Regions from separate parts of the Homo sapiens genome. Here regions 2 and 3 are each linked to region 1. Evidence: promoter capture Hi-C in 16 types of primary human blood cells and fetal thymus (Javierre and others, 2016). All regions are on one chromosome and are shown on one strand. Each heading gives the region's core, a stretch centred on a gene start or on the middle of the fragment in contact. The rest is flanking DNA. Distances are from core to core; before and after follow the strand shown.

What was found. Contacts are between HindIII fragments. The CHiCAGO score rates a contact against its expected background, and 5 or more counts as called.
Region 2: the fragment with the promoter of HOXB-AS2 here is called in contact with a fragment that was not itself captured in region 1 in 1 of 17 cell types (naive CD4 T cells); the score reaches 5.8 in naive CD4 T cells.
Region 3: a contact is called between the fragment with the promoter of TTLL6 here and a fragment that was not itself captured in region 1, in 1 of 17 cell types (neutrophils). The highest score is 5.2, in neutrophils.

The regions. Positions count from the first base shown.
Region 1 is chr17:48,028,473-48,033,245 of GRCh38, forward strand. It overlaps COPZ2 (coat protein complex I subunit zeta 2), which reads right to left. Exons shown (of 9, transcript NM_016429.4): 4 at 4,739-4,773; 5 at 4,214-4,269; 6 at 3,684-3,761; 7 at 653-704; 8 at 1-38. It overlaps MIR10226 (microRNA 10226), which reads left to right and starts at 4,410; the gene lies at 4,410-4,479. The HindIII fragment of the contact is 237 bases long and covers 2,050-2,286 here.
Region 2 is chr17:48,554,527-48,559,080 of GRCh38, forward strand. It overlaps HOXB-AS2 (HOXB cluster antisense RNA 2), which reads left to right and starts at 1,631. Exons shown (of 2, transcript NR_046610.1): 1 at 1,631-2,832. It overlaps HOXB3 (homeobox B3), which reads right to left. Exons shown (of 5, transcript NM_001384749.1): 3 at 1,005-1,092. The HindIII fragment of the contact is 1,381 bases long and covers 1,511-2,891 here.
Region 3 is chr17:48,814,147-48,818,761 of GRCh38, forward strand. TTLL6 (tubulin tyrosine ligase like 6) reads right to left here and starts at 3,083. Exons shown (of 16, transcript NM_001130918.3): 1 at 2,824-3,083. The coding sequence starts at 2,926. LOC105371813 (a long non-coding RNA gene) reads left to right here. Exons shown (of 4, transcript XR_001752926.1): 3 at 1,693-1,846; 4 at 2,283-2,812. RefSeq lists silencers at 2,789-2,838, 2,929-3,278. The HindIII fragment of the contact is 3,258 bases long and covers 1,421-4,615 here.

The DNA of each region.
Region 1 (4,773 bases), core at 918-3,417:
TGGGCCACACTCTGTTCAGTCAAGCCGCCATCATCTGCCTGTAAGGAAGCAGAGTCAAGGGGTGGGGTAGGGCCAGCATGAGGGTCCTGGGTCAGGGAGGTGAAGGAAAGGGGCTTGGGGGTATGGGTGAGGTGGTGCAGTGGTTAGGGTGATTCAGAGCTGCACCTGTGTCACTGGTTAATAGAAGTCCTGCAGCCTGTCATTTGGAAGCCAGGACCTCTGGGATTGTGCTATGGTGCGTGGAGGGTGAGGGAAGATGGGAAGAAAGATGGGAAGAAAGGTTTCATCCAGACATGAGAAAGCCAAACAAGGCAGGGAGGTTCTATCCATACCCCTGACCCCCAACCTCAAGGCCAAGGCAGCCACCTAGTGCCTCTTTGAAGATGTATTTATTTCCCCAGTCTATACTTCCTACCAGGAAAGAGGTGAGGTACTTGTGCTCCTAGCCGGGGAGAGGACAGGAAGATTTCTTCCATTAACTGGCATCCCACCCAGAAACTGCTGCTCATCTCACCCCTAACAAGTGTGTCAGCCCAGTGGTTGGCTTCTGCTAGAGGAGCTTGGGCTTCTACCATCTAGGCCCTAGCAGCCCTATTCCCAGGGAGGACAGGAAGGGCAGCCTAAAAGAGGAGGTGTCCAGGAAGACTCTTACCCTAAAATTCACCTTCTGGATCACTTGCTGGGGGTCACTCTCCAGAATCACACTACAAGATGAGAGGAAAAACCAGGAGGCAAATCAGTGGCACAATCCTCCCCTCCGCCCCTTCTCCTTGCCAAGCCTCTTCCCTCTCCGAAGGCATCCTGCAACATCTCCACCTTCCAGGTCCCTTCCCACTGATAGCCCTCAAGTCAGAACTCTCCCTCAGCATGGAGAGCCCTCAGCTCTGATTCTTTGATGCTTCAACCCAGTGGTCCACATGCTTTGTCATCCCTGGGCAAAATCTTTGAAACTGGATAAGAACAGTCTGGTCTAGGATGATCAGGTTGTCAAAAGCAGGGACTCTCAAAACTCAGAGCTCTTGAAAGTTCACTTCACTTTCTGGGTATAGGATTGGATTCCCTGTGAAAAGAGTTAGGAAGAGAGGCCCTGGGGGTTCTTATCTTGTTGCACTGTTATTTTATGGCATGGGGTCATGCCCTGCATAAAAGAAATGAAACTCCAAAAATCAGCATCTACCTTCTCCCCTACTTCCTCCCTTTTTTTTTTTTTTTAAGGCTGGGCACGGTGGCTCATGCCTGTAATCCCAGCACTTTGGGAGGCCGAGGCGGGTGGATCACCTGAGGTCAGGAGTTCCAGACCAGCCTGGCCAACATGGCGAAACCCTGTCTCTAGTAAAAGTACAAAAATCAGCCAGGCATGGTGGCACACATTGTAATTCCAGCTAATTGGGAGGGTGAGGCAGGAGAATCGCTTCAACCCGGGAGGCAGAGGTTGCAGTGAGCCAAGATTGCGCCACTGCACTCCAGCCTGGGCATCACAGTGAGACTCTGTCTAAAAAAAAAAAATTTTTTTTTTAAATCTTCCCTTTTAGGCCAGGCACAGTGGCTCACGCCTGCAATCCTAGCACTTTGGGAGGCTAAGGTGGGAGGATCACAAGGTGAAGAGTTCGAGACCAGCCTGGCCAATATGGTGAAACCCCGTCTTTACTGAAAATACAAAAAAAATTAGCCGGTAATGGTGGCGCACGCCTATAATCCCAGCTACTCGGGAGGCTGAGGCAGGAGAATTGCTTGAACCCAGGAGGCAGAGGTTGCAGTGAGCCAAGATCACGCCACTGCACTCCAGCCTGGGCGACAGAGTGAGACTCCATCTCAAAACACACACACACACACACACACACACACACACACACACACAAAGAAACAAACAAAAAAATTCCCTTTTGATAGACCCAAATATTGTAGCTTTTCTCAGAGAGCAGGCGCTCCTTCGTGAGGCCTTGGGGTTATGTACAGGGTACATGGGCGTGAGGGCCTGTCACTGCGGCAGGACAAAGATGACAGGATCTGAGTGTACCTCCTTACCCACTGAGACTCCTCCAAGGCAGAAGCTTTGTTTCTCTTTGTTACTAAATCACTGGAAATGACAAACATTTCTTGGGAGCCTCTTCCAGTCCCCATCCTTGGGCTGAGCACCCCCTGTCCCAAGCTCCCTAACCAGGGGTCCTGTAATCCATAAAGAAAGAGCATCCCAGGCCAAGGCTCCAGTTTAGGCGTTGCCTCCCGACTGGCGCTTCCCCAGTTTTTCTTGGCAGGAAACTGAGTTCCTCAGAGGCAGAGACGGGAAGCTTGTGAAGCTTACACCTCAGGCATCCTCCTTTGCACAGCCATCCAGAGCCCTGCATCTTGTTTTGCATTTATAGTTTTGTGTGTGTTTGTGTAAAGTTTTCCTTCAAGAGGGTTCACCAAATTGTATATGCTTCTGGCTCCCCAAAACCTGGCGTTACCCCACTCCCTTTTGGGTCCCAGAAATCTGCAGGAGGCATTCCTTAGTGCCCCAGGCAGTCCAGTACAGTGCCATAGAAACAGCATGGCCTCTGGAACTATTCACATGGTTTTAGATCTTGGCCCTGCCACTCCCTAGCTGTGTGAGAGACCTCCGGCGTGTCACTTGAAACTTTGAGCCTGTTTCCTAATGTATAAAATGATGTAATGATAGAGGGATGTATGTTTTTAAGGAGCTCAAGAAATTTCTATTGGCCGGGGATGGTGGCTCACACCTGTAATCCCAGCACTTTGGGAGGCTGAGGTGGGCGGATCACGAGGTCAGGAGATCGAGACCATCCTGGCTAACATGGTGAAACCCCGTCTCTACTAAAAATACAAAAAATTAGCTTGGTGTGGTGGTGGGTGCCTGTAGTCCCAGCTACTCAGGAGGCTGAAGCAGGAGAATGGTGTGAACCCGGGAGGTGGAGCTTGCAGTGAGCCGAGATCACGCCACTTACTGCACACCAGCCTGGGTGACAGAGCGAGACTCTGTCTCAAAAAAAAAAAAAAAAGAAATTTTTATTATCCTTTGCCCCAGAGCCAGAACTTCTTTTTCTCTCTGAATATTGATCCCCTGATGGAAATTCACAAGCCAACTTTTCTCAAAAGAGCTCCTAGCTTCCTAAGAATATACTAGCATACCAATAGGAGGCAACATCTATTGAATGAGAACCACAAGCTTCACATGTATCTTCTCACACATGTATTTAATCCCCACAATCCCTTATTACCTCCATCCTAAAGATGGAGAAAGTAAGCCTCGGGGAGGGTCAGTAATTGACCCAGGTCACGCATCTAGCTTGTGTTGGAATTGAGCCCTAAGAGCAGGACATGTGGGGCTGGTGGGACTGTCTGAAGTCCTTCCAGAGAGGGCCAGCATCTGTGCCAGTGCTTCCCCTGGGCATTGGAGACCAAACTGGATTTTCCCCAAACCCTGCCTATTCAACAGTCTCCCATAGTTTGACATCAGGTTAGTCTCTTGTTTGGCTTGACTTTGGCTAACATTGAAATCAACTTCTATCTTCATGAGTGGGGCGCTAGTAAGGGGAAGGGCTAGGGGAATGGGATCCCTGGGAATATGCTGGGGGAAGGGAGTGAGAAGTTGGTCAGAGTTCTAGCCATGCTGGGTGCCATCTGGGGCTGATGATTATCAAAGGCACTCCTGCTGTGAGTGTCCCTGACTGTCCCCTCCTCACCCGCCATCCACAATCTCGTCCAGCACCAAGAAGGCTCCGTCCATGTTCTCCAGCAACCAGCGCTTCTCCACGTTCTTCCTGAAGGTGGACACAAGCTCCTGAGCCTCCCTGTGGCTGGGAGGAACTGAGTCCCTGCCTAGGTGAGGCTGACCCCACTCTCCAAAGACTGCCTCATTCACCCCTCACCAAACAAGGACTGGGAAGGAGAATGTGAAGGGCAGTGAGCACAGAGCCCATGCAAGGCATTTCTGAGCAAAGGGCAGTTCTGCTTCCTTACACCCTACCTTGTCCAACCTCCCATACTTTGGGCCTTGACACCCTGGCACCCACCACAGGACCCCAGATGCGTTTCACAACTAGGTTAGATGCTATAGCACAGCCCTACTTTCGTTCATTGTGTCGACTGTGAACTTTTCTTTTTGGATTATCTTAGTCTTGTGGGGACTTCAGGAGAAAAACAGGGAGGAAGGGTCCTGTGACATATCAGGGCCAGGGGGATGGGGCCTCGGAGGGCAGAGAACCTCACTCACCTTAACATGTGGTTCAGAGACTCAAACAGGCAGGTGAGAACAGACATGAGCATCAGCTGGGATGGGCAGATACGGGAGGAGGAAAAGGAGAGTTTGAGATTGAGAAGGTCAAAAGAAGCACTTGGAGCCCACCTGTGCGGGCAGCAATGGAGAGTTTCAGAGGCCTGGGCTGGAGACTGACTGCGGTGTGACATTAGAGGGAACTTCCATGTGTCTGGGCTGGGAAACTGGAGTTCTCCACTGGGAGACATTGAGTGTATCCTTCTCTAGTTATGTTTAAGAAGGACAAAGCCTCCCTTGAAGATGAAGTGATTACTTCATTCCTGGTTCCCAAGGAAACTAAGGGGCATCGAAGATACACATTGTCCCAGAAAGAACCCTTCTGGCTGCCCTCCTCTACCCCATGGAGCCTAAAAGAAGGGGTCCAATGGTGAGCCTCCAGGTCCCAGCCTCAAGCCCAGATTCCAAATAACAACATTTCCCCATAGACAGACCCTTCTTACTGCCCCAACCTCCTGAATTCACCTCATTCTCGTAGGATGAGCCCACCACGTATAGGA
Region 2 (4,554 bases), core at 381-2,880, 530 kb after region 1:
GGCTGGGAAGGTTTGTGCACCCGGGTAGTCCCTGGCTGCTGCTGCCAGGCTGCCTCAGCCGGTCGCTGCTGCCGCGGCGACTGGCGACAAGCTACCAGCCACCTACGATGGCCCAAGGAGGCGAAGAAGAGCAAGCGATCAGGACACCAAAACGGTTATCGGAGGCAGGTTCCCAGCACACCAGCCGGCCGAGGGCCGAGCCCCGCGGGCGGCAGCAAGTTTTGGGAGCTGGAGGTAACCGAATTAAAAGGCGCCTTAGAAACTCCGCTTCGGGACTTTGCTCAGCAGGGCTCCGGGTTGGAGGGCGCCGAGGCCTGGCGGACGGGACAGTGGGAAGAGAGAAAGGTGCTAAGGGGACCCAAGATCTGGGATCCAGAACAAGAGGGGGTGGGGAACAACTCTACCAAGCCAAACAGATCTATTTCCCTTGCCTCCATGTTGGAAAAATTCAGGTTCCATATGGCTCCTCGGGAGGGAGGGAGGGAGACGGTGGCTGCCGGCTTCCCCCCAGGGTCTCGCTGGAGAAGGGAGATGAGCCCCCCGCAAGAACCCCACCTTGCCAAGCACACCCCAGGGAGAGCCAGGAGAGTAACAATAGCTGGGGAAGCCCCGAGAGAGGGGATAGGCCATCTTCCAGGACTTAAAAAAATTAATGGGAGAAAGAAAAATAACAAGAAAGGAAGACAGAGAAAGGTTGAGACTTTCTTAGCAGCCGCGGAGAAAATTCAGCCCTGGATCTGGCTGCTGAAAGAAAAGAGAGAGAGGAGAAAAGAGGAGAGAAGCAGGAAGAGAGAGGGGAGAGAGAGAGGGAGAGAGAGAGAGAGAGAGAGAGAGAGAGGGAGGGAGGGAGGGAGGGAGGGAGGGAGAGAGAGAGTCGCTGCGTGGAAGGAAGCTTAAAGCTTGTGAACTCTTCTTGAACCGAGATTGGAGTCATATGGGCCATAAATCATTGAGACATACTCTCCGCCATTCACAAACTGATAGCCTATTTCAGTCCAGCTTACCTTAGCCACCGACGAGGGGAGAACAGGCAGACATAATATATATTCACATCGAGCCCCAGAGCGAGCGGCAGGCGACAAATCTCCCCTCCTTGAAGGCAAAGGAAAAAAAGACCACTGTTTAAAGCTGCGTCGCCCCCCGCCCCCCCGCCCCCGCCCCGCAAAGCCACCCCGGCTGGGGAGCCCGAGGGGCAGACCGGCCAGAGGAGCCGCGCGGCGTCCGCTTCAATTCACTCGGCTTAGGAGCAGGGGTGCGCAGGAGGGAGGGGGTGGGGGAGCGGGAAAAAAAATAGAAGACCGAAAGGTGCCGGGCGGCTCAGCTCGCCAGAATCCAGCTCCGGGCTCCAGCAGGGCTAAGCCGCCACAGTGTGGTTGCCCTATAAGACTGGTACGCCCTACTCTCCGTAACAATGGCCTCTGCTTTTGCACAGGGAAAAAAAACCACACAGACACACACACACACTCACTCACACACAAGCTCACACCCCCCCACCTCTCCCCCTTTAGCAAGCTTAGATGCCTGATAAGGAGGGAAGGTGATGGTGGTGATGGGGAAGGGGGGAAATTTTAAAATACCCGCCTCCCCAAAAAAAGAGTAAGAAGAAAAGAAGGAGGGTTTTTTTTTTTTCCTTAAAGAACAGGTAAAAATTTAAATCTAGATTGGAGGGACAGGGAGGAAGAGGTGAGCAAAGGCAAGGAAGGGCGGTGAAGTTCACAGCTCCCCCCATACCCCACTAGTGAACTATTATGCTAATATGAGAAGTAGTATTTGGAGGCTGAGTCAAAGGCAGGCCTGGCCCGGGGGTGAGGGTGCCGGGTGCCCCTCTGCACTCATTCGCAATTGGAACACCAGGACTTTTTTAGAAAGTAGTTCTGGGTCTCCAACCCTCACACTCTGGCTCCCTCCTTCTGAGTCTCCAGCCCCGGCTTCTTCCCTCCACTACACCCTCTCTATTCCTCCCAAATCTCCCTCCAGTCTCCAGGCCCAGTCTCTAACCAAGGGAGAGGGAAAGACCAGAACTTAAAAAAAAAAAAAAAAAAAAAACACCCCTCCCCCTTTTTCTTTTTGAGAACAGACAACAAGCGGTGAGTGATGATTTTAAAAACTCTGAACATCTTGCAGGGGGAGGAGGGTTGAGAAAAGGGTGACAAAAGGAGGACTCTGTGTTTTAGTTTGAGCTCCAGACTGGCTGGCAGTAGACGGGCTGAAAGAACTTCATGGATAAGTTTCTGTTATGATTCTCACCTCCGAATAGGCAGAAGGGGCTAAGAGGTGATAAGGACATTTGTACTTCTAAGAAGAGAAGAACTAGCAGGGTCGCTTAATTTTAAATGCACTGGCAGAAGAGATGGAAGATGGTTATTATTATTATTCAGAACAACCCTGTTTGTTTCTCTCTGCCCTGCAAGATTTATGACTCTTGGCACAAGTGAGGAAGGCCACAAAAGCTAAAGTTTTCTTAGGGTGTGTTTGAGCAGGGCAGGAAAAGGCAAGGAGGAGGCCTGTAGGAGGAAGACAGGAGCCAAAAATGTAGGTGTCTGCAGATTTGGGACAGGGGGTGGGGAATAGTCATTCCGGGAGGAAGGAAAAGACAAAAAGAGCACCAGGACATTTCCCAAAGCAGGAGTGTTTGCAACTCTGCCTAACTGCTGACTCGGAGCTAGGGGATGAAATAGAAAGCTGACTCTTTTCTCTAAAGGCAGCTTGGAAAACTGGTCCTCTTAACTTCATGTAAGGCACTACCCTGTGATTTCCTGGTTAGAATACTTGGCTTTTGCCTTCTCCCATCTGGATGCACCAGAAGAGGGAACGGGACTGGGGACAACAAAGGTGAGAGTTGATTTCCAGCTTTTGTGTTCCCTCCAGCATAGGTTGGAGGTGTCTGGCAAAGCTTCCCTCATTCCCTCTCTCTCCCCACTCACAGGCTCTACTTTGGGATGAGATAGGGAGTGGCCCCTGGCCTCCAGCCCCTACTTCTTCCAGGCAAGGCTAAGTCAGGCCAGGTGATTTGGAGCAGCCGGTTTCCAGGGGCCCTGATAAACTGGGGGTACCTATGGCCTTCCTGCCCTCCAGCAACAGAAGCCACTTGCAGAGCCTCAGAATGTAATGTCCTGAGGACCCCACCTCCCACCTAGAAAGTTGACAGCTGGGGGGAAGCACGGGTTGGGGGACATGGGGATGGAGGGTGGGAGCTATTTTTCTGTGTTTATTAGCTATTATTCTGTGTTTATTAGTATTTTTCTGTGTTTATTAGTAGTATCAAGAAAATAAAACATCCAAGTCAGACCTAGACTTGGGGCTCAAGCCAGCCTGGAACCCCAAAGAGACCTGTTAGGGGTGCCTGAGCATGTGGCTGCAAAAAGTCTGTCCTGAGATCTCTACACTCTGGTTAGAGACCTACAGGGTCAGACCCCATGTAACTTTGAGCTTGGTGGGTCAGGGACTCAGGCCAGGGAGGCTTCCAGAGGCTTAAAGAAACCAGTACCTTTGGGGTTTTTTTTTCTATCACTCCCCCAAATAAAAAAAAAGCCAAGAATGTACCTCAAAACCTCTGCTGTCCTAGCTGTTACTATCATTGGGTTAGAGAAGGTCATTGTAAAACTGAGAGAAGAGGAGAACCTGATCGCTTTTGGGACTGCGCAGCTTTGCCTCTAGGAATAACACGAGAGTCCAGAAGGCACCCAGGCAGCCTCGGGCCGGCTGCAGGAGAAGCGGGCCTGGAGCTGAGCTGGGAGTGGAGGAGTGTTCCAGAGACAACAGCAGACCCCTCCCTTCCCCAAGCCTCCTCAACTCTTTGTGGTCCCTCGGGCTACAGAAGGCAGTGGGGCATAGTGGGGTGGGAGTGAAAAAGAGGACCGAGAAGCAAGAAAATGAACCTGGAGAAAATCTCAGAGGACATATACCCCCAAATGCGGTAGGAGATGGAGTGGGGGCTTCTTAATTCTGGAGTACAGAGCCCATTTGGAATACTTGGGAGGCAATTAGATCCCAGTTTAGTTTCTGTCTTGCCTTTTTTCTTCCATTCTCAGAGGTCTCTGGCGAGCAGGCGGGCTGCCCTCTGATTAGGGCTGGGAGGCTGGAGGACGGAGGGTGGAACAGGCACCCCTAAGGGCCCCTGTTTGGACTGAGGTGTTGCTGCTAGCCAGGGGATTTTCAAACTTCAGGGGATAAAGGCTGGTAGTGAGGAGTTTGAGCAGGGAACTTGGGGTGGGGGACGCCAGAGCAGGCTGAGGGAAGACTTTGGGGTCTGGGAAAAGAGAAGCAGGAGAAGGGCTTATCATCCCTGAGAGTGAAGCCATGATTTCGGAACAGACTGGAGATACAGAAGAGGGAACAATTTCTTCTTGGATTTGGGAGGGAAACCTGGAAAACTGTGTGTGTGTGCCCATGTGTGTAGGGTGTGTGTGTGTGTGAGAGAGAGAGAGAGAGAAAGGAGGAGAAAGAGAAATTGAAAAAGAGGAAAATTGAGTAAGAGACAGAGACACTAGCATAAACTAATGAAGTAAAAAAATAATAAGGGTAAAGATTAGAGAAAATGCCCTTCTTCACAGA
Region 3 (4,615 bases), core at 1,833-4,332, 790 kb after region 1:
CGTCTCTACTAAAAATACAAAAATTAGCTGGGCATGGTGGCAGGCGCCTGTAATCCCAGCTACTCGGTAGGCTGGGGCAGGAGAATCGCTTGAACCTGGGAGGCGGACGTTGCAGTGAGCCCAGATCGCACCACTGCCCTCCAGTCTGGGTGACAGAGGGAGACAGTGTCTCAAAAAAAAAAAAAAAAAAAAAAAGACTAAGAGCTGTACTACCAATGTAACAAACACAGTAAATAGCAAAATAGCATCTTCAGTTTTTCTTAATGACACAAGAAAGAGCATTGTGTCATTAAGGAAGGGTATTAGTCCACCTTTCCAAGTAGGATATAGTTAAGACACTGAAAAAATTCTCATGTTTCCTTCCATTTTAGTATAGGGTTTGATCTTGAGATCTTCCAAGCCAGAGGCTGTCAACAAGATCCTGGTTAGACAGCACGAAAATGTCCTACATTGGCCACCAGGGGGAGGGAATGAGCACTGGGACGGGTCCACTGGGACGGGTCCATTGCGGGTTATTTGGAAAAAACTCAGAGGAGGGTCCCTGTCTTATTTCCACTTCTGAAGGACTATACCTGTTGACTACTCTCCTCTTCCCTGGAGGTGTTGCAGAGGGTGGAAAATGTTTAGTGCTTTCTTTTATCTTTCTTTCTTTCTTTCAAACTCCAGCCTGTTGCCCAGGCTGGAGTGCAATGGCACGATCTCAGCTCACCGCAACCTCTGCCTCCTGGATTCAAGTGATTCTCCCGCCTTAGCTTCCCGGGAGCTGGGACTACAGGCATGCACCACCACGCCTGGCTAATTTTGTATTTTTAGTAGAGATGGGGTTTCTCCATGTTGGTCAGGCTGGTCTCAAACTCCCAACCTCAGGTTATCAGCCCACCTCAGCCTCCCAAAGTGCTGGGATTACAAGCATGAGCCACCGCGCCCAGCAGTTTAGTGATTTCTTTTGCAAAACTGAATGAACACGGGCATCCTATAAATGATAGAAAACAATAATTTGGTGGTTGACTAAGAGAACCCTGGGAGAACATATTTCAAGTTGTAGCCAAGTTTTTTCATCTCTGACCTTCATCACCTGGACTTTTTTTCTAGTCTATAGGAATATATAGAGCACTGAAAGTTTCGCCTATTGTGTCTGTCTGTGAAGTCCCTCTCTTTCACCAGATAATAGGTTTTCCTTCACGTACCTCCTTTTCATCTTTTGGTCCTCATTTCCCTACTGGAAGCATCCCTCTGAAGGCCTCCAGTGGTTCTTGGAAAATGTCAAATTGGATGGGGGAAGAAAAGATGTGGAGGTAAGACCTCTGGATCTTGCTTTCAGCTTTGCCCCTCCAACTCAGTATGTCATAAAAATCCAAGCAATTATTTCCTCTCCCACTCCCTATCTTCTCTATAATTACAGGACCACTAGGAGGATAAAAGCTTCACATCTAGAAAAGTGCTTTGAGCTTTGATTCAGACAGGATAAAATAAGATGTTTTTTGTGGTCTTTTGACTTTTCGTTTTAGTCACACTTTGAATTTCAGCCCGGGGCCTGAAAGGGTCCTAAGCAAAATGTGAACTAACAAGGGAGGGATGGGGCACCCAATTGCTCAAGGGCTTTGCCAATAAGAAGTGTTGAGAATGACAAGTCACCTGTAGTGGGAACAATAAGAATCTTGCTGACTTAGATGCCATCTTTTATTCTTCTAGAAACTGAGAAATTCTGCAAGATTGGAAGATGCAATATTCAGATCAGGCTCATGCCTAGTCATTTTCTCCACAATATTCAGGGCATTGCTAACAAAGACAGATGGATCTGGATCCAAATCCCAGCTCTACTAGTTTCTAGAATGTGTGACCATGGGTGAGTAACTTAGCCTCTCTGTACCTCAGCTTCTGTATAAGTAAAATGGGGATGATAATAATATTCATTTTATGGAGCTGTTTTAAAGATTAAATGAGTTAATATTTCTAATACCCTTAAAGCAGTGCTTGGTTCAAAATAAAGGCTATATTGTAAAATGAAAATATAAACCAGGCGTGGTGACTCATGCCTGTAATTCCAGCACTTTGGGAAGCCCAAGTGGGAGGATCACTTGAGCTCAGGAGTTCGAGACCAGCCTGGGCAAAAAAGTGAGCCCCCCCACCCCCACCTCCATCTCTTAAAACAAACAAAAAAGAAAATATAATAATAAGATTGGCATAAATATTAAATTTTTTTGGAGTGCCTCGCACATACTGGTGCTTTCAAAACGTTAGCTCCCTTCCCACTTCATCCCCCAATGTGATATTTTTCCTAGAGTTCAAATCCCAAAGGAGAACTTTCTGCAAAGCCAGAAGAGTATTTTTTCAGGAGGGGTGAGAAATAACAACTGGAAATGAAAGAACACCAGGCTGGAAGGCGGTAGGGGCATCAGCAGAGGACTATGCCGGCCATGAAAAATGGGAAGTGTCTTGCTGGAAGGTTTCTCCAGACAAAGGAAGAACAGTGATGAAGAAAATGACCCAATGATGGGGATGAAGGGGATGAAGAGAGTTGTGTGAGTCCCAGGGATCGCTGGTGTCTAAGCGACAGCTCCTTGGTGGACTGTGGTTTAGGAAATCGGGGGAGGGCGGGAAATGAACGTTAATAAGAGGGACTGAGAAGGGGGGAGTCCCGGAGCCGAGGGACCGTGAGGGTGAGTGCCTGGCGCCATGGAACGCCACCAGGGAGGGCAGCGGGCTACCCTGGGGACCTGGGTCCCGTGTGGGTTTAAGGAGACGTGTCTAGCCAGGTTTTCAGGGGACAGGCACCAGGAGGCTGCGGTCTGGAGCCAGCACCGGGCTTTGGGGCGCTCTTACCCGCAATTCCTACTCCCCCGTCTCGCCCCGCTGGGCTGCTAGTCCAGCTTGCAACCACACCTGCCGGCCCCCTCCTCGAAGGATGAAGGAGTAACGCTCCCATTGGCTGCCAGACAGCCCCAACCCCAACCCGCGCTCGCCCTAACTTTGGGTCCGCCCGGCCCTCATATTTGCATACGGGGCCTTCTAGGCCTTCGATTGGCCCCTGCAGTAGCTGCCATGCCCCCTCCCTCCCGAATCCAATTAACCGCCCAGGCGCTAGGGGAGGGGCGCGCCCACGGTTGTCCCGGGAGACGCGGAGGACGCGCGCACCGCGCACCCGGGCGCCAGGGGCTGGACCGCCGCTCGCTCCCGCAGCCCTACCCTTGCCCAGCGAGCCAAGCCGCAGTCCCAGCCCATCCGCGCCGGTGCCGTCGGGCGCCGTGCGCGGGCGCGGCCAGAACGTCTGGCTCCAGAGGTCCAGCTGCGCGGGGCTGCGGTGAGGGAGGGGGGCACCTTGAATTTAGGCCTTCGGGAGAGGGCAAACCTGAAGCAGGAGGCACTGTGGGAAAACACTGGTTGGAGACTTAAATCAGCATCTCAGGCATATTAGTGCCTGTGTCACCTTGGGCAGGCCACGTTACCTCTGTGAGGCTTAGCTTCTTCAACAGGAAAATGGGTGTTGCAAACCTGTGATGACCGCTCAGGCGTATTGAACCCTGACCTCACCTCCAGAGTGTGGGGGTCATGGCCTCCAGTGAACTGATCAGTAAGAGAGGGCCGCCTAGACCGACTGAAGAGTCAGTGAGACTTAAGGGGTTAGGGGTCTGGGCTTCTCAGAGCAACCATTTGGTCTCAGGTGGAGAATCTGTAGTAGTGACTGGATTCAAATCATTGAAGATGGTCGGGCGCGGTGGCTCACGCCTGTAATCCCAGCACTTTGGGAGGCCTAGGTGGGTGGATCGCTTGAGCTCAGAAGTTCAACACCAGCTGGACAACATGGCGAAACCTCCTCTCTACTAAAAATACAAAAATTAACCGAGCGCGGTGCGCGTACCTGTGGTCCCAGCTATCGGGAGGCTGAGGCGGGAGGATCGCTTGAACACAGGAGGCAGAGGTTGCATTAAGCTGAGATCGCGCCACTGCACTCCAGCCTGGGCAACAGAGGGAAACTCTGTCTCAAATAAATAAATAAACATTGTTCATTTGGGCCTGAGTTGGTAACCTAAGTTCCTCCCAACCCAGATCCCCTTCACCTGCTGATGTGCACAGGCAGAACACCAGAGGCAAGGGTGTAGCTTAGCCTCAAGCCGACCCTGGAAGCCTACTACGTGGTGCTTACAGTCACCCCGGAGTGAACAGAAGGCCCAAAGTGGAACCAGTGGCCCATCTGCTGCTCTTTCAGAAACCTCTCTGCCATCCAGTCAGCACTCTTCCCTTTTCCCCCCGCAGGTGGCCCCGTGCTGTGGTGCCCCTCCCCGACAGGCCCTAAGGGGCCAAGTGACCATCATTAACTGGTCACCCAGCAGATGCTTCCCTAAGACCAACTGTCCCAGCCTGGTCCCCTCCCCCATCCCACTGTTGTCTTTCCCCAGCGTCCTACCAATCTGCTCTGCCTAGCTCCTGTTTGGTCTCCGGTCCCTCAGGAGTGATATTGTGATGGAAATGAGGGAGAGGATACAGGAGAGAGCAGCAAAGATTTACGGCTTTCAGAGAGTTTCCACTAAAATCCCTGACAACTGGTTATTTATGAGATGTTGCAACGGGAGCTTATAGGCCAGAGCCTGGCACTACTGTCCTTTCAGGGCTGATG